Linked DNA regions of Homo sapiens: regions 1, 3 and 4 are each linked to region 2. The links are contacts of gene promoters, found by promoter capture Hi-C in blood cells and fetal thymus (Javierre and others, 2016). All regions are on one chromosome and are shown on one strand. Each heading gives the region's core, a stretch centred on a gene start or on the middle of the fragment in contact. The rest is flanking DNA. Distances are from core to core; before and after follow the strand shown. Region 1 overlaps MOB1B (MOB kinase activator 1B). Region 2 holds the start of ANKRD17 (ankyrin repeat domain 17). Region 3 overlaps GRSF1 (G-rich RNA sequence binding factor 1). Region 4 holds the start of RUFY3 (RUN and FYVE domain containing 3).

The links. The method cuts DNA at HindIII sites, captures the fragments that hold promoters and counts their contacts. A CHiCAGO score of 5 or more calls a contact.
Region 1: a fragment that was not itself captured here is called in contact with the fragment with the promoter of ANKRD17 in region 2 in 1 of 17 cell types (non-activated CD4 T cells); the score reaches 6.4 in non-activated CD4 T cells.
Region 3: a contact is called between a fragment that was not itself captured here and the fragment with the promoter of ANKRD17 in region 2, in 1 of 17 cell types (activated CD4 T cells). The highest score is 6.4, in activated CD4 T cells.
Region 4: a contact is called between a fragment that was not itself captured here and the fragment with the promoter of ANKRD17 in region 2, in 2 of 17 cell types (naive CD8 T cells and total CD8 T cells). The highest score is 7.9, in naive CD8 T cells.

The regions. Positions count from the first base shown.
Region 1 is chr4:70,982,348-70,988,799 of GRCh38, reverse strand. MOB1B (MOB kinase activator 1B) reads right to left here. Exons shown (of 6, transcript NM_173468.4): 6 at 632-6,452. Among named protein-coding and RNA genes, the nearest start is that of DCK, 8.1 kb to the left of the region's middle. The HindIII fragment of the contact is 2,733 bases long and covers 2,214-4,946 here.
Region 2 is chr4:73,256,152-73,262,330 of GRCh38, reverse strand. It overlaps ANKRD17 (ankyrin repeat domain 17), which reads left to right and starts at 3,533. Exons shown (of 34, transcript NM_032217.5): 1 at 3,533-4,055. The coding sequence starts at 3,663. ANKRD17-DT (ANKRD17 divergent transcript) reads right to left here and starts at 3,165. Exons shown (of 5, transcript NR_187399.1): 1 at 2,923-3,165. RefSeq lists enhancers at 3,012-3,281, 2,884-3,480, 5,881-6,179 and a silencer at 3,442-3,841. The HindIII fragment of the contact is 8,436 bases long and covers 1-6,179 here.
Region 3 is chr4:70,833,548-70,839,837 of GRCh38, reverse strand. It overlaps GRSF1 (G-rich RNA sequence binding factor 1), which reads left to right. Exons shown (of 10, transcript NM_002092.4): 1 at 1-367; 2 at 3,524-3,680. The coding sequence starts at 11. It overlaps LOC124900710 (a long non-coding RNA gene), which reads right to left and starts at 846. Exons shown (of 3, transcript XR_007058131.1): 1 at 693-846. RefSeq lists a silencer at 1-540 and enhancers at 1-590, 591-1,245. The HindIII fragment of the contact is 4,947 bases long and covers 1,406-6,290 here.
Region 4 is chr4:70,718,463-70,725,137 of GRCh38, reverse strand. It overlaps RUFY3 (RUN and FYVE domain containing 3), which reads right to left and starts at 3,174. Exons shown (of 18, transcript NM_001037442.4): 1 at 2,387-3,174. The coding sequence starts at 2,564. The HindIII fragment of the contact is 1,757 bases long and covers 928-2,684 here.

The DNA of each region.
Region 1 (6,452 bases), core at 2,331-4,830, 2.3 Mb after region 2:
ATTAGCCGGACATAGTGGCATATGCCTGTAATCCCAGCTACTTGGGAGGCTGAGGCAGGAGAATCACTTGAACCCAGGAGGTGGAAGTTGCAGTGAGCTGAGGTCGTGCCATTGCACTCCAGCCTGGGCAACAGAGCAAGACTCCGTCTCATAAATAAAATAAAATAAAATACACATTTCCTTTTGGAACTTGGTAAATGATTCTCCAATATTATTAATATTCCTTAATGATCTGTAATGAAGACAAAATATTAAATAATAGCTTGGTGAAGAGGTCAACAAATGATTATTACTGTGCTAACTGTTCTCACTGTAATAGTATATATTATAGAAAACATACACCTGCATACTGCAGAATAAAGAAAAAAGTGAAAAAAGTAAAACAGAAACACTGGTTTCAAGTTCAGACACAGTAGGGTTTTAAAACCGTAATCCAAATCAGTGACTTGTACAATTTCTGAGCTTTAGTTTTCTAAGATGTTAAGACACTGGTTGTTGTGAACATTACAGAAAATAGTGCCTAACAAATTTTAAATGTTCAACATATTCCATATGCCATCAATATTTCCCTTGGAATGTGTTTAGTGTGGGAATGCCTATAGCAAAAATAAACAGTAATGCAAAGTCAGGATTCATGGCCAAACGTAACTATTTATTCATTTTTTTCTTATAAACATTGAGTTTCTTCTTTAAAAAAAAAAAAACACCTAGAATTTAAATATTTCCCATCCCATCACATACAAGTCTGTATACATTATTTACATCTTTTGAATAAAACATATTACAGATTTTCTGACATCAGTATCCCTTTTTAAACAAAAATGAAGCAATTAAACTTTGATCAGTAACAACTACAATTTGCATAATCCGGCACAGTTTGTAATATAGCGCCTATGTTGGATTTCATAACTTAGATGATTTTTCCCCTTCTAGTTACTTGATTATAAGAGAGAAACTGTCTCCATGAGAGTAGTTCCCTGTCTTTATGCACTCTTCTCAATACTTGCACAGTGTAAATGCCGCCCTTATTCTTCCATTACTTGGCACTGACAATATTCCTCTGCTTTTGTCTTCAGAAATGATTTCTATTTGAACTTTAAGTGTTCTCATATATACTGTATTCTCCTTCAACCCAGATTTCATGACACTGTTCCTAGTGTTAATTCTATGCAGTAAAAGTTAAACCTATAGGAAAAGTTCAAATAAAACATCAAGTAAGTGTTTCCTACAAGATTAGTGCCCTCACCACCCTGGTTATGCATGTACAATAATAAATACAAGTTAGTAGCTCCAAAAAAACTACTTTCCCTAAAAAGTCATTTCTGTCGAACAATTTAAGGAGCAAAGCATCCTTAAAATGAAAATGCACTAATCTTTTTTACAACCTGCACAATTAAGTATTTCAGAAAAACAAAAACTTGTGCAAAATGGTAAGAAACGCCCACCTATACAAATTTAATATTAAATCAGATGAGAACATGAATTTATAAGTAAAAAACAATTTAATATTAATAATATATAGAGAAATTAAATATTGAAATTTTAACTTTGTATCACTAATAATCTCAGCTTCAGTGAAATAATTTAAAAAAAGCTGTCAAACACTAATTTCCTAAATAAACTGAAACCTATGAATTGACAGTAAATACTTCAGAATCTCTAACAATGAAGACCTGCAAAATCAGCCTAATTATTTTCCAGTGTGTGTGTACACGCACAGTGGAAAAACATACAGCTGGAAAAAGCCAGTGATTTTACTATCTACCTTTGAGAACTATAGCCCATATTTTTCAATTATTTAGTTCTATATGCAGAAAAAGTTATTACATTTGCAAAACTCATTTTTGTATTTTCTCTCTTTTGTCAAAATGTGAATCAGTTCAGCTACAAGTGACAGACATACAGTGCAGTTTTATACCTTCAAAATGGATTATTCTCTGTGATCAGCCTATTAGGAAAGCCTTAAAAATTCAGAATCAACTGTGGTCAGAATTTTTGTTACATCTTCAAATTAAACTTTTCCATTAAATCTTAAGATAGCTTTACTGCTAAACATTTATCATATCATACACAATTAAGGTGATAGCTGAACAACAGTGATTTCCACGGTAAATTTTAATATTACAACAAAACTCTGATATTTAAGTTATTTAAGAGTAGTCCTTAAAGTGTTTCTAAGAATTGGTATATATTCTTTAATTTTAAAATAAGCTTAAAGTATAAATCTGTGTTTTTAAGAATTGGTAGATTCTTTAATATCCCAGATAAATTTCAAAATAAGGTAAGTTTTCTTATTGGTATGCAGTCACATTTCCAAATTATAAATATATTTTTGGTCCCACATCTTTTAAAAAGACATTAAAAGTTATAAATATATGAAAAGGTTATACAATTCTAAATATTTTGTGATATGTAGGCTTAAAACTCAGCATAATTAGTATATGAAACTTATTCCTATTTCTTTGTACAAAAATCTCCAGTCTTTTATTAAAGTCAAATTGTTCATCTGAGTGAAAACATTTAAAAAAAAATGGCAGTAAAGGCTGTTGTCTCCTTAAACTACTTCTATCTTAAATATTGGATCCACTTTTCCATAGTATCCATTCAATCAATACTATCCTACAGTAGTTAAAATTAAATTGAGAAGTTTTCATGAAAAGGAACAAAAATAGAAAACAAGTTCTAGAGAAAGGACTTGGTTTTTTTCCATTAGTATATCTAACTAAGGTAATTAAGGTAAGGTAATTAAGCTGAATGTTTTTAAAAAGTAAAACCTCCACATCCAAGTGATAATTTCCACTTCAAAATAGTGACATCAGGAAACTATTCTTTTATTCAATTATGCTACCAATGCTTAAAACATTCTCTTGTGCAAATTCGGAAATCATGGCACATTCCTTTGAACTTCCCTAATGGTTTAGCTCCAGAGAACAGCCAAATTTAAATTACAGTTGAGCTGATGATTAAGATAGGTCATACTGGCTGGCTGTGGTGGCTCACACCTGTAATCCCAGCACTTTGGGAGGCTGGGGAGGGCGGATCACTTGAGGTCAGGAGTTTGAGACCAGCCTGGCCAATATGTTGAAACCCCATCTCTACTAAAAATATGAAAATTAGCCAGGTGTGGTGCTGCCTGTAATCCCAGCTACTTGGGAGGCTGAGGCAGGAGAAATGCTTGAACCCAGGAGGTGGAGGTTGCAGTGAGCTGAGATCATGCCATTGTACTCCAGCCCGGGCAACAGAGCAAGACTCCATCTTAAAGAAATAAAAATAAAAAAAATAAAAAAAATTTAAAAAGGTCATATTAAGCTGCCAAAAGTGTTTAGTGTAACTAAAATGATGAAACTGATTTTCCTGCATAATAACAAACTGCTTTTCATGGTATGCTCTAGAACAGTTCCAAAAACATTATACTTTTGCAGTATAGCTGGAATAAACAGTGCTCCCAAAAGAACCACTCTGAAGATGAACTCTTATTTGGATGTTAAGGCATGACTTATTCACCTTAAAAAGAAAGTTCTACAACTCAATATTTGTATCTCACATATTCTACCATTTCAGTGGTTATCAAAACCTGTCTCAGAGAGGGGTAAACAAAAGTATAAATGAAATGTTGTTTTGCTATTTTCCCATAAGCAAGGAAAATGCTAATATATAAAATGGAGTCTGGTGGTTATATATGTAATATATAAATATCCACATCATCTCTATTTCCTGATAAGAGACTGTAGTGTTTTATCCATCCTGATAAGACAGGCAGTAACTCAGTCTGAGATATATTATACATAAAACGTATCTTCTCCTACCTAATACATTTTATGGTGACCATTTAGAATTTACAAATGACTAACAGAGGGAAGGTAGAAAGAGACTGCAATTAAAAGTCTTCCAATTTAAGGTAAATTAACCTCCAAAACCTCTACCAGCAACTAACATGCTTGTTAATTTAGTGCAGTCTAATGCCATGGTTTTTAAGAGAAAGGGAATAATCAAGTCAGCAAATGAAAGCCAGTAGCACCATCTACTGCTAATTAAAATATTTTCACTCTTTTTGTTATTAATTTCTCTCTACCACCACTACTCCATCAATTAAAGTAATTCCAAAACATTGCTTCGTATCAACATTTAACCAAAAAAAGCATTGTGTGTGACAATAATACTATGTTAACTTACTACTTTATATTTTATGGGATGCTTTTATCAAAGGATAAGAAAACCAACTGTTGCTTTATAGCTACGTATTAATATAGAGAGCAAGGGGGAAAATAATTATCTTGGTTACTTACAAATTAATTAAAGAAATCCAAAAAGAATCCAACAGACATTTATCAGCAAACTCTGCTGCAGAACAAAGCACTGATCCTTATATTTAAAAGGGCATCTTACTAACTTTCATGGGAACCAACCAAATCAACCTTTTATTACATCAGTTCTTTCACTTTCTGATTTTTTCCTTACTTGTAGCCATGTAACACCATGTGCAATGCCAGGCCTCTCCCCTAGAGAACTGCTATGCTTTGTTACCATATATACACATATATACATCTCCTTACTTCCCAGTGACTGTGATTAAAGAAATACTCTAAGCAGGCACCTGAGATTCTGGCACAGTGAAAACAAACTATCTACATATAGTGGGAAAGTAGGTCTTACTACTAAAAACAAGTACAGTGTACTACTGTATAAGGCTTGAAAGGGCAAGATTAATTTTTCACTATTCTCTCTATACTTGGCTATTGCAACTCCTTTTTTACTAGATTGATATGAAGTCAAATACAATATGGAAGACTGAGTAATTCTGTGCTTCATTTTCCTATATGGACAAGATTCAAAATCACCTCACAAATTTTATTTCTGAATCAACCCATAATGATTCATATTATCTATCTGAATACAAAAAGATTTAAGGAAATTAACTAGCTCTGACTGCAGTTTATAAATAAGCTTTACCAATAAATGTCCAAGATATTTAACTCTGCCAGGCTTTCCTGTTACTTCTACTGTTGGTACTTGGTAAATAATTGCTAGAAATGAAGTGGAGAAAAAGGCAGTTTCTAGTCAACATAATTGTAATGGCATTAAATTGTATCACTGCTCTACTTTAATGGCAAAACAAATTCATTTAATTTTAGATTCTTTTCTACTGAGTGTTTTTAATCTATACTATTTCAGAGCAAGCATTTCTTCCTAGATGTGAAAAAGGTATATGTTTCAACTGAAGGAAGGATATATATTTCTAACTGAAGAAAGATTTATCGAAAATGACAAAACTAAAACTGGATTTCTAAAAAGGGTATTTTCTAGAATAAAACTGAAGTGGAAAAATTAATATTTATTCTAAAAACTAAGTTTCTGAAATTGTTATTTATGGTAATAATTCACTAGAAAGTCATGGCGAATAAAATTTAGAAGTTAATAACTACTGAATTAGCATTTTTCATTATCTAATACTGCTGCAAAGAAAAACATTTCCTTTCAGGGTGGAAAAACCAGAAGTCAGAATGCTTCAAACTGGACCTATAATAACCAAAGAAGGTATGGTATCATCTTAAAATGACAGGCAAACATCAGCTCCATTCACTGAATGGAAATGCTAAGAAGTGATCAATTTCCCCCAACAGTCCTTAAATTCCATGTTTAATGTCTGTACCTAAAATTAATAATTTATTTTTAACTTCTCATGGAAGTTGATTCCTAAAAGGAAGTCTCTAAGACTTTGTTTATAAGTAATTGATTAAAATCTTCATGCCATTCTATTCAAAGGTTTTCAGACAAAACTTTCTAGAACTTGACTCCCCATCCCTAACTCCTCATACATACGAACATCTCCATGCCCCCAGCCAAATATACATTCCTATCCCCTTCTCTTCAAAGTAGAAGGGAATTCTGCAGACTTACGGCTCATTTGGCAATTACTAGGAAACCTCACAGTTCAGCATCACCTCTGAAGATGGCAATCCTATATATAACCTGAATTTTTACATCTACAGTGCAGTTAACATGTAGAAAGAAGCCAAAATGTAATACATTTCAACATCCTCAAGTTTCAGTATCACAGATATCAAGAGGTGGGAAAAGACCTGCTTGTAGAGCTTTAAGCATTGTTGAACGTAATATATTACCATCAATATAAAAAATAATTAAGAAATATTTTTTATGTTCTACATGCATACCTTTACAAATTCTGTTTCTTCAAAGCAGTAAAGGCTGGAAATCACCATTTTAGGTAAACTATGGCTTTTATCATAGATATGTTACAACATGCACCAGTAAGTGCCCTGGGTAGTAATCCTAATATTGTTTCAAGCCCTGTTCAGTTCTATATCTATGTTTTGCACCTCAGAAGTGAGCCTGCCAAGGCACTTAAAAACATAACTCTTTTGGGGACTTCATAAATGGGCCACAATTTATACCACACAGAAACCAATCCATCGGCAGTTCAATCAACAAGC
Region 2 (6,179 bases), core at 2,284-4,783:
CTTTAGACCTTTATCGTAGCTATCTTGAAGCCATCTAAAATAATGACTTTGAATGGAAAGACCAAACCCTTTTCCTGATCTTTGTTGCAGGACTTAATCTCAAGGGTAACTATACTCAAGACCTCTTCTAGTTTTTTTTTTTTTTTTATTAGAAGTCTTATAAAAGTCAACTTTTCCAACCCTTCCTGAGAAATATTCCTGTACACTCTCACTTCTGTGAAGTATTTCCTGAGTTTCTCTCTTTAGTAAAACCTTACTAAAAGTAAAATGTAAAATTCAACACAGTATTACTTTTGCTCTTTTCAATCATTTCCTCTGGAGCTAATCTAAACAGATAGGTGATCTGATTTTGAATTATTTCAGGTGACAGTTTTACTAATTACTTTGCCACTGCAAACATGGGCCTCCTTTTTCTAGCCTCCAAATCACATTCTCTACCACCTGCTGCATCATAAATAAGCTGATGTAACATATTTTAGGTTATTGTTTTAGCAGTACTCCACTTCTTGTACCAATTTCTGGACTAGCTATGGTCATTCTAGCTCCTATACATATAAATTCTCAAATCTCAATTTTTTCTCTTACAGTAAGTGCAAAAAGGGGTGTTTCTAATTGGGGTGGCTGTCTTCCAAGTACTGTTTCAGCCACTCATTCTTCTCTTTTCTGGCTTTGGCATCTCCAATACATAGTTTTGAAGGTCACCATGCTCAAAGGCATCAAGTTGACGAAGAAAGAGTAAGGGAGAATAGGAGGACTTCATTAACCCTAAAAATGAGCACATCATTTCCATTCATATTTAATTGGCTAGAAGTTAATCACGGCCAGGCTCGGTGGCTCACGCCCGTAATCCCAGCACTTTGAAAGCCGAGGTGGGGGAATCACCTGAGGTCGGGAGTTCGAGACCAGCCTGACCAACATGGAGAAACCGTGTCTCTACTAAAAATACAAAATTAGCCGGGTGTGATGGCACATGCCTGTAATCCCAGCTACTTGGGAGGCTGAGGCAGGAGAATCGCTTGAACACGGGAGGCGGAGGTTGCGGTGAGCTGAGATTGTGCCATTGCATTCCAGCCTGAGCAACAAGAGCTAAACTCTGTCTCAAAAAAAGAAGTTCATCACATGACTATAACCAACTACAAGGAAAGCTGTGAAATTTAGTTTAGCTGTGTGCCCGGGAAGAAGAAATAAGTTTCATGGGCTAGTCAGTCCCTGCCAGAGGTTCTAACGGGGGGAAAAAAAGATAAAAATAAAAGAAAGTGACTTTACATGCCTTGTCCATTTTAATAGTTTTGAACCTTATCCTACTAGTGAAACAGGATCATCATTTCACTATTATATTAAAGAACAAAAAACTCATTTTCTTCCAAACAATGAGATTACTTTAAAGAGAGCATTTTTGGTAGCACAGCACGATAGACACAGAGACTAGACTGCAGAGGGCTGACAAGTCAATTTCAGAAAACAAAAAAGACACTGATTGTAGACACTTTTTTTTTGAGATGGAGTCTCGCTCTGTCGCCCAAGCTAGAGTGCAGTAGCAGGATCTCAGCTCACTGCAAACTCCGCCTCGCAGGTTCAAGCGATTCTCCTGCTTCAGCCTCCTGAGTATAGAATACTTTTTAAAGAAAGAAAGTTTGCTTGTGAAGGAAATAATTGAAAGCTACAGAAGAATTAGCTAAGGAACCAGAATTTGTAGAAGGTTGACAACAGAAAAGATAATAAATGCATGAGAAAGAGGGGTATTGGAACTAGAATATGTATGAAGAGTTTATCTCATATATGAACAGGGAGTCTCTCATTCGTTGATACTGGAGAAAAGGCAATCTCAGGAAATTTCTAGCACTTGGAAAATTGTGAAGTCTAAGTTAAAAGTCATATAATAAAATGGGCTGGGATTTAAAGATTGCGAAAAGTATTCAAGTGGAAAGGGAGAAAAAGATGCTGAAGAATATACAAAGTAGGAGGGAGGGATGCAGCTGAAATTATAAAATCTAAATCAGTAGTGGTGAGATACACAATGCAGTGCTCTGTTCTACACTGGAACTCAGCAACGACTGTAGGAGAGGAATAGGCAGATGGTTACCACTCCGTATATATATTTACTATAGCACTTATTACACTGTAAAGCCCCTGGAAACAAGAGACTTTGATTCCACAAATTATGCGCACAGTAGGCACATGATGAATTTTTGTTTGAATGAATTGATTTAGTCATTGCCAATTCTGCCTTGGTACTCTGTAGAGTACTGGCAACTGCCCACATTTCATATGGTATGCCAATGCTAAAAAGAAAAAAAATGCTAAAAAAAAAAAAAATCCAGGCATATTCAGCTAAACTAAGCAGTCTTAAAATGGCAACTATGTCAGCTGAGACATACTTTTAATCTTGTGCCAGTACATCTGTCTTTGATGTTTGCTTCATTTTCCGTATGCCACTATACTCCTACTAGACCAGAAAGGGATAATTCTGAGTTCAATGGGCTCCACTATCATTTCAAAAGTCCTGAAACTTCTTCAGACACCTAAAAATGAACCCACAACTCCCATAACAGCATTCCTTCCGAGAGAAGTATACAGACAACAATCACTATTTATGCTTGCTTCCAAGCTGAATCGAAGAGGGCCGGAAGAGCTAAATCAGGGTCATTCAGTGAATCGTCTACAAAGTCTGGCACAGACCACGCATCCTTCCCGTGTCTTCCTCCCCTTGGAAACTTGAGGTGTAAGTAATGATCTTAGACATCTCCTAATCGACTGCCTTCATATTACACACGTGTAAACTCAGGTAGAGGATGTCTATGAGCCGAGCTTAAACTCAGGTAAAGAAGGCTCTTTTCCCAACACGACGCCATCTCTCATGATCCAAAGCTCTATCTCTCGATTTGGCGGTGGAAAAAAATGACCAGGAATAAAACTACGTACAGCAGTCCAGAACGAGGCCCCACCTCCCGGATCTGGCGGACCGGCCTCCCGTCAGCAAAGTGTCTGGACCGCGCTTCCGCACCTCACACTGCCCGGGGCCGGCTCCTCTCCAGCCTCCCCGTACTCCCCACACGCCGCAGCACTGCGCGCCCGCGGGGCCCCAGACCCGGCCCTTGAAATCTCACTTTCGCCTTTCGGCCACCCGCGCGCCACGGCTCAGGCGACGGCTGATGGCGTCACTGCACTTCCGCCTGCGGCTGCGTTCTAATCACAAGCCAGGAAGGAAGAAGGGAGGGCTGCAGGGCTGTGTGTGCGGGAAATAGCGAGGAAAGAGAAGAAATCCGGGAGCTCGCGGGCGCTCTGGTTGCAATCGCGCCCCCCTCATCTGTCCCCGCCGTTCCCCTTCGGAAGCTGCCCCAGGCACACTTCCCCGCTTCTTTCCAGTCTCCTCTCCTCTGGTTCTCCCGACACCCGGTCTCCCTGTTACGCCTCACCCTCCTTCCCTTGCTCCCTCCCTCTCCCTCCCTCCCTCCCTCCCATCGTCAGGCTCCCCGCCCTTAGTATCGCGAGACGAGGTGAGAGCTGGCGGAGCGGCGGCGGCGGCGGCGGCAGTAGAGGTGACCGAGGCGGTGGCGGCGGAGGCGGCACCGATTGCTGTGTCGGCCCCAGTGCGGCCGAAGTCGCGGTAGAGCGTAGCCCCACGCCCCTCCCCCGTCCGCGCCCTCCCTCTTTCCCTGGGGATGGAGAAGGCGACGGTTCCGGTGGCGGCGGCGACGGCTGCAGAAGGAGAAGGGAGCCCCCCGGCGGTGGCGGCTGTGGCGGGCCCCCCCGCGGCGGCGGAGGTCGGCGGCGGCGTTGGCGGCAGCAGCAGAGCTCGCTCGGCCTCGTCTCCTCGTGGGATGGTGCGAGTCTGCGACCTGCTCCTGAAGAAGAAGCCGCCGCAGCAGCAGCACCACAAGGCCAAGCGTAACCGGACTTGCCGACCCCCCAGCAGCAGCGAAAGCAGCAGCGACAGCGACAACAGCGGCGGCGGTGGAGGCGGCGGTGGAGGCGGAGGTGGCGGCGGCGGCACCAGCAGTAACAACAGCGAGGAAGAAGAGGACGACGACGACGAGGAAGAGGAGGTTTCTGAGGCAAGGGCCTGGTTTCAAAGGAAGGAGGGAGGAAGGGACTGTAAGGGATAGGGGCCGAAGGTGGGAGGGGATTTGGAGTGGGACAGATTCCAGTGGGTTGATCTCTTAGGGGCCAGGCTTTCGACTGCCCCCTTTCTTCCCTCGGCCTAAATCGTGAGGTGTGGGAATGTGGGGGAGGGTAGCTGACACGTGGGGGTGGGAGGACCACGGAGTTCACAGAGTTGGTGAACAGCCTGTTATCATGGGATGGCTCACTTGGTTAAGGATGGAGGGAATTGGTTAGATTCCCTGTTTGCACGCCGGGGGGTGGGGGGGTGGTCTGCCTGGGGCCAGTAGGGCCACCTTAGTCTGAGGCGGGATCGGGATCAAAGCGGGAGGAGTAAAATAATGGGTAAATGAGTCTCTTGGGGACCAACTAGGAGGTTGATCAACTTCTCCCAGTTGTGAGGTGGAGGGGAGCAGTTTGAGGGGGGACGTAAGGTTGTAATGGACTCAGAGCTAAGTGTTTGTGTATGTGAGGGACACGTGAGAAGCTGTACTTTTCCATACTGTTCTGCAGGGTTTTTCGTAACTATCCTGGCTGCTGAAGTAACTTCATTTCCTCGATCTCCCAGGGATTTTCGATGAACTGATGCTGTATTTGTATAAATTTATCAGTAACTTTAAATAATTACAAATGACCATATACATTTGTAAGTGGATGAAAAATATATTTGATCCTTACACGTACATACATACATGCCTTCGAATGTTTCCTTAGTGAGTTAGAATTAAGCTAGGACCTGTTGTCCCGTAATATGGGACAGCCAAAGGGTAGGCTTTGGAGCCAGGCCTGGTTGTGGTGAGTTGGAATAGGAAGGCCTCTCGGTTTGTCCTAGTGATCTGGTTTCATAATAACTTTATAATTTTTCCTGGGTCCACAGACAGGCGGCGTTGCAGGACCTTATTCCTCACAGAAGCCCTTACAACCCAAAGGCTCAGTAAAACATACCATACTGACAACCAACTGAGAGTTAGCTTTACTAGTTATTAGCTGTTTTACCACTCTCTTGTCTCCTTCCTGAAATAGAATCTAGAAAAATCTTTATTTGGAGAGGGAAATCTTTATCAGCAGAGGGAAAACAGCTTTAAAGGCTGATTTTAAACTTAGTTCTAAGAGGAGACCAAGTGATTCATCTAAAAGTACCACTTACTATTTATTCTCTTCCACAAACATGGAACTTATTTTGATGCAAGTCTGGTTTTCCGAAAATTGGAATTATTGAATCCTGGTCTCTGTTGAAATAGAGAAGTACCTTTTAAAGGATTTGACACATGTCTATTTGTAGAAGACCAGATTCTCTTTTATCTCAGACTGGATGAAGTTGTATAGGTAGAGATATTAAGTGCTGAAGTATGTATGACAAAAATATGCCAGTCCTTGTTTTTATTCCCTTTTAGCCTGTTGGATTCTGAGAATAGGTTTGTATTGATAGACTTATATTGGCCTACTTGGATGTTTAGGATAGTGTGTTGCTCTGGCGGCATTTGAAACAAGGAAGAGAAAGATGTAATGGGGTCCTTATCCCTAATAAAATTTGTTATGGTACTTAGAATCATTCAATTGTATGATTCTTCTCAAAGGTGAGAAACATTTTACAGGTAATTCAGCCCTTTATTTTAAAAAGGAGGAAAACAAGGTTTAGAGGAAAGTGGTTGTGGTGGGTAGTAGCAAAAGTACAAATCAAAGTTTTCTAATGTCTCAGACCTGTACACTTTTTAATAATAATTTATTTCCTTTTATCACCCTCCTGATATCATTCAGAAAAATAGTTACTGAATAGCAAGGTAACACAATCATGCAGCTATAGGCAAAATACCATTACTTAAAATTTTAAATTCTCGTGAAACTATTAAGCTCTGGTTTAGAGCAAGGTTATGATAGTTGAATGCAGTACTTACTGGGATATTCTGCTGCAAACTTAACATACCTAGGTAGTTTTGTCCATTGGAATGCGGCCTAATAAGCAGAACTTTTAGTAATTCCTTAAATCATGAAGAATGGCTGTAAGTTTGTAGGTATGTTTATTTTGTGGGTCAGGTTTGTTTTCCTTTTGTAATATAGGAATGGTTATGTTGACTTTC
Region 3 (6,290 bases), core at 2,630-5,129, 2.4 Mb after region 2:
TCCGGAGTCCATGGCCGGCACGCGCTGGGTACTCGGGGCGCTGCTCCGGGGCTGCGGCTGTAACTGCAGCAGCTGCCGGCGCACCGGCGCCGCCTGCCTGCCCTTCTACTCCGCCGCTGGCTCTATCCCGTCGGGCGTCTCGGGCCGCCGCCGCCTGCTGCTGCTGCTCGGGGCCGCCGCGGCCGCTGCCTCCCAGACGCGTGGCCTCCAGACCGGGCCTGTGCCTCCCGGGAGGCTGGCGGGGCCTCCCGCTGTGGCCACCTCTGCCGCGGCCGCGGCCGCCGCGTCCTACTCTGCCCTCCGTGCCTCTCTGCTGCCGCAGTCGCTGGCGGCGGCGGCCGCCGTCCCGACGCGCAGCTACAGCCAGGTACGTGGGCGCCGTGAGGGACCTGGCGCGAGATCCCTCCCGGGCCGCGTGCACGCGCCCCCGCGCCCCTCCGTCCCTCCGTGTGCGCCTCGCGGGCACGCCCGGGGATCCGCGACACTCGCCGCACACCCGCCCCCGTCCACCCTGTGCTCCTATTGGGCCCTGGAACAAGGGAAGCTCTCCCAGGCGTCGGGTCTTCTGCTTGTTTTGTTCTCGCCTCGAGTCTCTGGTCGGTTGGGCAGTGTAAGTGTGGCTGGGGTGAATGTTGAGGCCTTGTTCCCCGCCTGGCCCATGGTAGGTTTCGTGAGGCTGCTGACGCCCCCACCTCGCATCTTCTTGCTTTCCGCCGGCTGGTTGTGAAGTTGCGAGGCCCGAGCCCGCCGGAGGGTTGGGAGTTTCCGTGCAGCCCGAGCGCTAGGCCTGGGCGGCCCTCGGCGCCTCTCGGTCGGCCGCTGCTGGGAAGGTGCGCGCACACAGTTGCGTGGGCTGGCTTGTAGGGAAGGAGCCTGTCCCCATCGCGCCGTTCCCTCTCCTGTCCCCAGGGAAAGACGAGCTGTCCCGGTTTACTGAAGGTCACCTCTGCAACTCCACTCATACAGAAGGTCTTTAAGGACTGTGTGTCGCCTCGTCTGGGAAAGCAGTTTGGAGATTTAGCTGTTGGGGGGAGGGGGTGAATGGGAGGGAGCGTTGAGGGTTGAGGACACAACTTGGGGTCCCAGGAATGAATTTGCAATGTTTTCCTTTCCATTTTTTCTTTATTTTTTTAGAAAAGTCGGTGTGTAGTTAGATTGCAAATATTTTGTGCTTTGTAGATGAACCTTTCTCTTCTTGGTACGTGGCATCTGGGAAGTGTCTGCACACTTTTTAACTACCCAGCCCCTGATTCCTTAGGTCATATTTATCTTAATTCAATTTGTGCTTCTCCTTTAACTTAGGGAGACTGGGAGGCTAATCAGCATGGCTGCTGTCTGCCAGTGGCTGAGCTAATTGATTTGAATCCTGGCCCAATACTTTACGCTGCCTTTTTCTGTAAAAGCTTGTGATGCTTATGGAATTATGGAAAAATGGGGAAAGTTGTCTACAAAAACCACAACAAAACCATCTCCAGTAAACCTTTGTGAGCTAGCTTCTCTCTTTTTTTTTCTATGAAATTGACTGCGGTGATATCTGTAGAGCATCTACTATGTGTTAGACACTGCTTACATTTATTCCTTAAAACTAAACATTAAGCCTTTTTTTTTTTTTTTTTTTGGAGACCGAGTCTCGCTCTGTCGCCCAGGCTGGAGTGCAGTGGAATGATCTCGGCTCACTGCAAGCTCCGCCTTCCGGGTTCACGCCATTCTCCTGCTTCAGCCTCCCGAGTAGCTGGGACTACAGGCGCCCGCCACTGCGCCCAGCTAATTTTTTGTATTTTTAGTAGAGACGGGGTTTCACCGTGGTCTCGATCTCCTGACCTCGTGATCCGCCCGCCTCTGCCTCCCAAAGTGCTGGGATTACAGGCGTGAGCCACCGCGCCCGGCCTAACATTAAGCCTTAATGAAAATTATAGATAGGGCTGGGCGCGGCACTTTGGGAGGCTGCGGCGGGTGGATCACCTGAGGTCAGGAGTTCGATAGCAGGCTAACCAACATGGTGAAACTCCGTGTCTACTAAAAAAATGCAAAAAAATTAGCCGGGCGGGGTGGCGGGCGCCTGTAATCCCAGCTACCCGGGAGGCTGAGGCAGGAGAATCCTTTGAACCCGGGGAGGTTGCAGTGAGCCGAGATTGTGCCATTATACTCTAGTCTGGGCGACAAGAGCGAAACTCCGTCTCAAGAAAAAAGAAAAGAAAAGAAAATGACAGATAGTAGAAAGATATCTCTGTCCTTAGTCCGGTAGAGTGCAAGTCTTTTTTTTTTTTTTTTTTTGAGACGGAGTCTTGCTCTGTTGCCCATGCTGGAGTGAAATGCCGAGATCTCAGCTCACTGAAACCTCTACCTCCCGGGTTCAGGCGATTATCCTGCCTCAGCCTCCCGAGTAGCTGGGATTACGGGCACACGCCACCACACCCGGCTCATTTTTTGTATTTTTAGTAGAGATGGGGTTTTGCCATGTTGGCCAGGCTGGTCTTGAACTCCTGACCTCGTGATTCGCCCACCTCGGCCTCCCAAGGTGCTGGGATTACAGGCGTGAGCCACCGCACCTGGCCCAGTAGAGTGCAAGTCTTAAAGCCTGAGTTGTCTTCTTAGGTTATGGTTGTAGTGCTTCGTGGATTCTTACTAAATTCCAGTTTTACTTAATCCGATAAAAGAGACTTTACAAGTCTGTAGCCTCACACTGCTGCCGTTGTCTTTAAGATCTTTCCCTTAATCACTTGGTCTGGCATACCAGCTGACAGAGGAATATTCCCAAGGCGTCCTGCTGTCTTGTTGATTTACCCAGTCCTCAGTGTCTTGTATTAACTTATCTTTGCCTACCAAGTGAAGGACACACATTGAGCTCCACACTCAAGGCCCTCTGCTCTATGGTACCAACCTCTTTTGCCAGGTCACCTTCTTTGGCTCCTAATTTAAACAGTTGGAATTAATTGCTGTTATTCAAATGGGCATTTGGTCGTACTGCTTCTTTCTCTCGCCTTCAAACTGGAATACCCTATCTTTTATATCCTCATAAAAATTCTATCCTTCCTTCAAGGCCCATCTCATGTCACATCCTGATTCATCTGTTAGTGCTCTGATTTGAATTCCTGTAGTATTTTGTATCTTAATTATAGCACTCAGTATCTCATCTTGTATGCTTATCGTATTCTAGATAGCTATTTCAGATGAGGGCGGCAAACACTGTGTGTAGGGGCAATCAAATATTTGTCAAATTGTCAGGACCTTTCTTGTGTTGCCTTAACTACACTATTGTTAGCTATAATTTGGGGTTGATGAATTTTAAAACAAACCCTGAATGAAATTTGTGTCCTGCCAAACCTTTAGGATATACCTGCTTATGGCTTTTGGATGTACAATTTAAGCCAAAACAGGATGGGTTACATTGGTGAAGTTTACTTTTTGCTTCTGAAATAACATCTAGAATGTTAGTTTGTAGAATAAACATTTTCTAAGAATTTTTTTACATTTTTTACCTGTAAATGCAACTCTTTTTACAATTCTTCATTTCCTTTGGAAGGAGTCCAAAACTACTTACCTGGAAGACCTTCCACCACCCCCTGAGTATGAATTGGCCCCGTCCAAGTTAGAAGAGGAAGTGGATGATGTCTTTCTCATTCGAGCTCAAGGACTGCCCTGGTCATGCACTATGGAAGATGTGCTTAACTTTTTTTCAGGTATATTTTATGTATGTTTTATTTATTTATTTTTTTTCCTTATATTGTTTCTCACAAGCAGGTATGTATGTTTTAAGTATGTAATTTTGTCTGAGTAAAAGGTAGTGCTACAAATCCATGTCAGACTACGCTGTCACCTTCCTTTTTGATGGTTGGGAACTGTCTCATTCTGGTTGGTTGCATATACCAAATGATACCATGTGTGCTGTTTGCGGTATGTAACGAATTGAAAGACTTTGGGCCAGGGGCAGTGGCTCAGGCCTGTAATCAGCAGTTTGGGAGGCCAAGGTGGAAGGATGGCTTGAGGCCAGTAGTTCCATACCACACTGGGCAACACTGTGAGACTGTCTCAATTTACATATGTATAAAGACTTTGAATGCAACAAAAGTATTTTAACGTTAAGACTGCATAGTATGGGCCAGGCGCAGTGGCTCACGCCTGTAATCCCAGCACTTTGGGAGGCCGAGGCGGGCGGATCACAAGCTCAGGAGATCGAGACCATCCTGGCTAACATAGTGAAACCCCGTCTCTACTAAAAATACAAAAATTACCCAGGCTTGTAGTCCCAGCTACTTGGGAGGCTGAGGCAGGAGAATGGTGTGAATCCGGGAGGTGGAGCTTGCAGTGAGCCGAGATGGTGCCACTGCATTCCAGCCTGGGCGACAGAGTGAGACTCTGTCTCAAAAAAAAAAAAAAATCCATCATACTATGTAGGTTTTTTTTTTTTTGAGACGGAGTCTCGCTCTGTCGCCAGGCTGGAGTGCAGTGGCATGATCTCAGCTCACTGCAAGCTCCGCCTCCCGGGTTCACACCATTCTCCTGCCTCAGCCTCCCTAGTAGCGACTGCCACCACACCCAGTTAATTTTTTGTATTTTTAGTAGAGCTGGGGTTTCACCGTGTTAGCCAGGATGATCTCAATCTCCTGACCTTGTGATCTGCCTGCCTCGGCTTCCCACAGTGCTGGGATTACAGGCGTGAGCCACCGTGCCCGGCTGGTATGATGGAATACTACGTAGCCATAACAAAGAGTGAGATTATGTGCTTTGCAGCAATGTGGGTGGTGCTGGAGACCATTATCCTAAGCAAACTAACATGGAACATTAAACTTAATACTGTATGTTTTCACTTACAAGTGGGAGCTAAACAATGAGAACACATGGACACAAAGAGGGGAACAAGAAGACACCAGGGCCAACTTGAGGGTTGGGGAGAAGATTAAAAAATACCTATCGGGTCCAAGTGCGGTGGCTCACGCCTGTAATCCCAGCACTTTGGGAGGCCGAGGCGGGCGGATCACGAGGTCAGGAGATCGAGACCATCCTGGCTAACATGTTGAAACCCCATCTCTCCTAAAAATACAAAAAAAATTAGCCGGGCGTGGTGGCACGCTCCCGTAGTCCCAGCTACCTGGGAGGCTGAGGCAGGAGAATCGCTTGAATCTGGGAGGCGGAGGTTGCAGTGAGCTGAGTTCACACCACTGTACTCCAGCCGTGGTGACAGAGAGAGACTCTGTCTCAAAAAGAAAAATAAAACCTATTGGGTACTGTGCTTGCTACCTGGGTAACTAAATTATCTGTATACCGAACTCCCATAACACATGGTTTACCTATGTAGCAGTCCTATACATGTACTAAATAAAAGTTGAAAAACAAAATTACATGGTTTGAAATTATTTTTCTCTGTGGTATTAATATATACATATCAAAAAGTCAAGCCTGTCAGTGGAAATATGGAATTAAGGGTGACTCTTTATGTAATACAGACATTTACAATAGAAGGTCACTTAGTATCAAGGAATAAAGTTCCCTTAATAACATGTTTGGAGGGTTTACATATCTGTGGGATTTTTTTTTTTAGTTTCTGTATCTGACTATGATTTATTTTTATTAATTTTTTTGAGATGGAGTCTTGCTCTGTCACCCAGGCTGGAGTGCAGTAGCGCAATCTCGGCTCATTGCAACCTCCACCTCCCGGGTTCAAGGGATTCTCCTGCCTCAGCCTCCTGAGTTGGTGGGACAGCAGGCACCTATCACCATGCCCGGCTAATTTTTGTATTTTTAGTAGAGACAGGGTTTTGCCGTGTTGGCCAGGTTGGTCTCAAACTCCTGACCTCAGGTGATCCACCACCTTGGCCTCCCAAAGGGCTGGGATTACAGGCATGAACCACCATGCCTGGCTATTTCATTAATTTTTTTAGCTGCTCCTTGTGGAGCAGGAGTAAATCCTAGGCAGTATGCCCAGAGTGAGCCTGGTCAAACTTTTTTTTAAAGCCACTTGGCCACTTACATCTTGGACTACTCCCATTATAAAAAGTATGCAGTATGAAAAGGGGAAAAAGGCTGGGTGTGGTGGCTGATGCCTGTAATCCCAGCACTTTGGGAGACTAAGGTGGGAGGATTACTTAAGCCCAAGAGTTCAAGACCAGCCTGTGCAACAAAATGAGACCGCCTCTCTACAAAAACAAAAAGTTAAACTATGGTAATAAAATTACTCATACAGGAAATATTTTAGAGACCTATGGAGATGATTTTAAAGGAAGACACTTATGTATAAATTTAACTATATTGTATTTCCTTAAGTGATTGTAGAAACATTGCAATAGAAATAA
Region 4 (6,675 bases), core at 557-3,056, 2.5 Mb after region 2:
CCTCTATTGCTGAGTACACACAGTCAGTCTACATCATTTTAAGAGGGAACATTATGCTGTTTGCCTATTTTCTTTTGTGGGAGTGAGGAGACTTCACTCTAGGATTTGGGTGGTCAGATGTTTTTCCCTCTGTGAATCAGCCCGGAAAGCAGTCTGAATACTCCCGCGTCCAGACATCAGGAGTTCCATTTTGTGAACAAGGTGAGATTCACATAATCATGGGCCTGGTGACCACCACTTAAATGCTTATAGCTAAATTAAATCTAATAACTATCAGTGGTATTAACATAAAAGTGGGTATTTCTTGGGACCAAATGACTGTTTAAATATCCAGAGTTTGGTAATGGAGCAAGGCAGTAATACTCACAGGCTTTCATGGGACTATGCTTTCTTTATTTTCATTTCTAGTAATTTAAAATAATAGCTTTCTTGCCCAATTTAAGGCAAAATTCTAAAATGCACTGTCGGCATTTCTCTATTTTCTTCCAAATCCTCTATAGTTGATTACAGGTCTTGGAAACTCTGTATTTATCTGATTTCTTTAATCAGCAGACATACAATTTATTACTTAGATTATAGCTCTCACACATTTTCCATACTGAGAAATGTGTTGCTACAGATTTCTCTATGAAGAATTCAAATGGCGCTGCTAAAAACGCTTACATGAACCAAACAGCTCACTTTTGCTTATCCATAGGAATCCTGCTCCAAAAACATATATTTGAGGTGTTAAAATTGTTAAAAATTATTTTTGAGACACTGGTAAACTAGATTTCATGATAAAGGGAATATTTCATATTGTATAACTCTCAAATTGGACGGGAATACATTTTTTTCAAACAAAATATGTAAACTGAGGCAGTTGCCAGAAGACTTCTTGGTAGCCTTCTAAAACTGTATTTTTCTTCCCTAAAGACTTTTAAAGCTTTGGAGGCTGTTTTAAGTAGTACTGGAATTGTTGGATGTAACGATGTTTTGATGAAAATATAGAATAAAATAATAATAAAAAATAAATAGTACTGGCATTGCATGGAATTTCAGCTGATGTCTTATAACTTGTGCACATAACGAAACATACAGCCAAAGAAAGCTGTCTAATTAACAAACCAATTGTTAAAAGATGCAAAGGGTCTTAAAAACCACTTAAACATTGTTCTTAAAGACACACCCAAAATGACTGCTTTGTGTTCTGTGTTATTAACCATCCCTAAAACTTTCTCAAGGCTAAGGCTGACTGGGAAGATAAAATGCTTATCAAACACAATGGGAAAATTCTGAGTCATGATAAGATTTCAACTCAAGGTCAAAGGCAGAGAATCACCTTTCCTAACCCCATCTGCTAGGTACAATTCACCTATGGTCTTCTTTGTCCTGTCGATGTGCCTAACTATCAGGCAGATGTTTATAAAGAATTTCTCCTCATATGCAAGCGTTTTTTGTTTTTTTTCATCAGTATAAGGACAGAGAATAAACCTTAGCTAAGAAGCAACTGTATTAAAAACAAAACGATTTGTAGCTATGATTCAAATCAGCTCTCTTTCTGTGGTATTAAGAGAATTAAAGGGTAGAAGCAGAAAACCTCTCATAAATTAGCAAGAGTCCTGGAAAAAAGTCGCAAGTCAAGAGACCACAAAGATCTCAGAGGTACTGACAGTGGAAATCTCAAATGGATCATAATAGTTACCACAAATAATTTATAAAAAGCAATGGCCAATAGATTCCAATATTACCATTCTATTGTAATCTATAGGGATGCCATATTAATCATATTTAACCTTTCCAGGCATTATGCTTTCTTAGGAGTCCATATTCAATAAATAAATGCTGAAAAGTTATTTTCTCATCTAACCTAATAATCCATATTGTTAAAAAAATGTTTTATCAAACATTTCCTAGATGTCATAACTTGCTTAAAATTGTATCCTCATATAATGGTGAGGATACCATTACCAAATACCCTGGTGTTTCTACTGTATTCATCATGTACAATCCTATAATTATAGTCATGTTGTCTTAACTTAGTGTTATAAATCACTACAATTTCTATAACATTTTCATATATGAACAAAATTAATAGCTTTCTCATTATTGAATAGAATCAGATGTGATAAGTGACCTCAAATGTTTTATTTAGAGGCTTAAAGACAAAGAACTCTAAACGAGTATCCAGCATCTTTTGAAAGGATACCTAAAGGGGCAAGAAAAAAAATTATCTTTCCCCCATGAGCAAGAGAAGGGGAGCTGGGTGGTAAGTAAGGATGCAAGGTTTTCAGGACTGTTAACAGTTGAGAGTGTAGGTTCTTTCTACCTCTCCCTGATCCTCCCAGCCCTCCCCCATAACAATGAGGATGCTGGTGAAATACTAGCGGACAGGATCTGACCATACCTTCATGGGTAGGCTCTGGGTCAGGTGTAAGTGAGATGTCATCCAGCTCTCGCAGGCAGAGCCATTCTCCATCCATGGACACTCGGAATTTGCAAAGGTAGATGGTCTCCATGGCAGCCTGTGTGATCTTGTCAGTGGTGGGGGTTGGCATATCGGTCGGAGGCGTCAGAGCAGACATGATGACTCAGCTGGGACCACAACACACACACAGACACACACACACTCACACACACACACCAAAAAAATAAATACAACCTCCTCACCAAAAAAACCCAATACAAAGCTCTGAAACAAAGCTTTCAGGAAAAGGGTGGGGGAGGTTTAAAAAAAAAAAAAAGGAAAAATACCTTATAGGTTAAGAACAAACTGCTCAAGATAAACAATTCTACACTATCTTATAGACAGTTCCTACCACATAGCAAAATAAGATGATGCTTGTCTTCTCCCAGCTTCCTCTCCTTTTATCTTCCCTTCCCTGCCCCCCACCTTTTTTTTCAGCTGAGCTATAGGCTTTAAATCCCGCACAGCTGATGCTGCCTTAGCTGGCTTTAAAAATCTGGCCTCGATATGAGTAAGTGAAAAATCCTCCTCCTTTGTGCAGAAAAAAAATATAAAAGAAAAACCTGAACAAAAAATAAACCTATATTTTCAATGTAGCTTAAAAAAAAAATCCTGAGCTGCAGAAATCACTTCCAGGATCTGCTCAGATGAGCTGGGATGCTGAGTTCTCATAGGATTGGCCGTGCGCAGTAAGCAGGGTGTTGACCAAAATGGCTGACTAATGAACTGAACTGAAAATTCAGGCTCATGTGACCAGCTGCTCTGAACGTAGGGCAAGCAATTCCCAGGATGCTTTATAGATGCTGCTGATGCTGGGAGAGCAATTAGGCTTCTCTCTCTCATCCTGTACAACCCACTTCCAGACTGTGCTAGTCAAACTGTGATCAGACATAACACAATGCACATATCCTCATCAATTCTTCTTACTTTGGGATCAAGGACTGAATAAAAGGATGACAATTAATACCGGATAATAATCTATAGTAAAGATGGTAAAAGAGGCAGTTAGATTAATTTAACAAGCATATAATTCACCTCTTTCATTCTTATCTACATAGCTATTAAAATTCTTTACTATGCTAAATGTTATGTTTTAAGAAAAGCTAAAGCATAAAAAATTGAGGTTCTCAGAGGGAAAAAAAACAAAAAGATAAAAAGAAAAGCTAAAGTAGATTTTCAATTTAAATATCTTATTCTTGGGCATTTATAATTTCCTTCTCCAAGGTACAAAAACCTGACCTTTTAGGTTAGGCAGAAATGCAAAAAAAAAACTTCAAGTTAAAAAAGTAAAATCTTTCCCAATTAATGGCAATTTCCCCCCTTTTTGATTTTGTTGTATTTATCAAGTTTCTGTATTAAGCATAAAATACGTTTCTTTTTTTTTCTTTTTTCTTTTTTGAGACAGAGTCTTGCTCTGTAGCCCAGGCTGGAGTGCAGTGGCGTGATCTCAGCTCCCAGGTCCAAGCAATTCTCTGCCTCAGCCTCCCGAGTAGCTGGGATTACAGGCACCCACCACCACGCCCAGCTAATTTTTGTATTTTTAGTAGAGACGGGGTTTCACCATCTTGGCCAGGCTGGTCTTGAACTTCTGACCTCATGATCCTCCCACCTCAGCCTCCCAAAGTGCTGGGATTACAGGCGTGAGCCACCATGCCCAGCCTTAAGCATGAAATATGTTTCTAAGCAGATTAAACCATGTTATATTTTTAAAATCCTCCCATTCGATAAGATACTGAAGACAATTATATTTTCTTAATACACACACACACACACACACACACACACACACACACACACACACACGGCCCTATATTATCCAATGAGGCATTTATACCTTGGTAGCAAAAGGGCAGGTACTTGCTTTATGAACTACATAAATTACAAAGAGAAGAATAAGAATTTTCTTTGAAAATGTTTTGGACAATTGAAAGAAAGTGTTTGTTTGTTTTTGTATTGAAGGGTTCCAATTTTAAGGAGGAACATACAAATTCAAGAAATATGACCTGAGACTATTCCTTTCTAGGGATTGTTATCAGAGGGACATCTTGATTTACCTAATTTCTGAAAACTAAAAAAATTCTCCTTGAATATTGTTAAAATCTCAAATGCTTCATCATAATTTGAGACTGAACTGAAAGAAAAAAATGCTAATAATCAAATTCTGTAGAGAAACTGGCATTTTCATATTGTTACGAAGACAGGGCGGATGGCTGGGCGCGGTGGCTCATGCCTATAATACCAGCACTTTGGGAGGCCAAGGCGGGCAAATCACCTGAGGTCAGGAGTTCGAGACCAGCCTGGCCAACATGGTGAAACCTCATCTCTACTAAAAATACAAAAATTAGTCAGATGTGGTGGCATGTGCCTGTAATCCCAGCACTTTGGGAGGCTGAGGCAGGTGAATGGCTTGAGCTCAGGAGTTTGAAACCAGCCTGGGCAACATGGCAAAACTCCATCTCTACAAAAACAAAAATTAGCAAGGTATGGTTGCGCGCACATGTGGTCCTAGCTACTTGGGAGACTGAGGTGGAAGAATCACGTGAGGCCAGGAGGCAGAGGCTGCAGTGAGCCGAGATCATACCACTGCACTCTACCCTGTCTCAAAATAAAAAAAAGAAGGAGGGTATACTGGTACAATGTAAGAAGGCATATATATAGGCTTATTTATAATTGGGGAAAATCAGTAAGTTACTAAGGAAAGCAAAATACTCCTGGTTTTATTTCTATCTCATTCTCTCTCATCATTACCCTACATCTAGACTCAGAGCCATTCATTCATTCATTCATTCAACAGATATTCACTAAGAGGTGCTCCACATGCCAGGTAGTGATCCAGGCACTAGGCACGCAGCAGTAAGACAGAAACACCTTTTCCAGGAAACAGAATTTTCATATCCAAATACTGAACACAAGCCTTCATTTAACACATTCTCATTTAATTCAGTTCAATTCCTTTCTAGCCAAAAATATTCCCATATTATATATTAATAAGGGGACAGTTTATAGATTCACTTTATATCATGCAATACTTCAAAACATAGTAAGTAGTCATTAAAACCTTCAAATTACATGGGACATTCCTGGAACCACAACTCCAAACAGCCCTAGCTATCTGTATGTGTGATATCAAAACTCTAGATCACTGATATGTTCTTAAAACAGAACAAGGAATACATGAATAAATCCGAATGCCATGTGATTGTCTGGGGTCCAAAACCTGAATTTGGCCTTGTCACAAACCACAACAATCTCTTCACCCCAGTAAGCATTTACTAACTTGAACAGATCTAGATTGATTGCAACATACCAACACAACAGGAACATCAAGGTTAGTGAGCAAGAAACTTGATTAACATTCCTTCGGAAGATCCATCCCACCCTGCCTCTCTCCAGGTAGAGGACACAGAGAGGCAAGCCCAAAACAACTAAAGTTTTTGGCAAGGAAAGAAAAACATGCCTGTATTGGTATCCTTGAATTTCCCAGATCTACCAGTTTGAGGTGTTGGCAGCCATTTCAGAAATAAGACCCGGGGGTGGGCAAGAAAAACTGTACTTCTACGCTGTTCTTTAGGTAAACACCATTGAGTCTTCAGCACGAACAGTTATCCATTGTTCACAGGCAAAGAAGTTACTATGAAAACAGTGCTATTTGTAGAAACTTATAAAAACAATTCTACGGCCGGGCACGGTGGCTCATGCCTGTCATCCCAGTACTGTGGGAGGCTGAGGCAGGCGGGTCACCTGAAGTCGGGAGTTCAAGACCAGCCTGACCAACATGGAGAAACGCCATCTTTACTAAAAATACAAAATTAGCTGGGCGTGGTGGCACATGCCTGTAATCTGCTACTCTGGAGGCTGAGGCAGGAGAATCGCTTGAACCTGGGAGGCGGGGGTTGCAGTGAGGTGAGATTGCACCACTGCACTCCAGCCTGTGAAACTCCGTCTCAAAGAAAAAAAAAAAAGATTTTAGATATTGCTTAGTACCGTTTTTACATTTTGGTCTTTACTAAGTAAACATCTTAGCTTTGAATATGAAGTTAAAGTTAAGCCATCAGTAAGATATTCAAACCTTGATTTTTTTTCTCACATACAGAGTAATTACTGTATGAGCTGTATTGAACTATTTTCTCATTTGATCCCATTTGTGAGTAATGGCACCTATTTGTAAGATGGTTGTGAGGCGGGTGGGAGTTCAGTCTGTGGCCCTAAAAGAATAGGCCTGTGTGAAG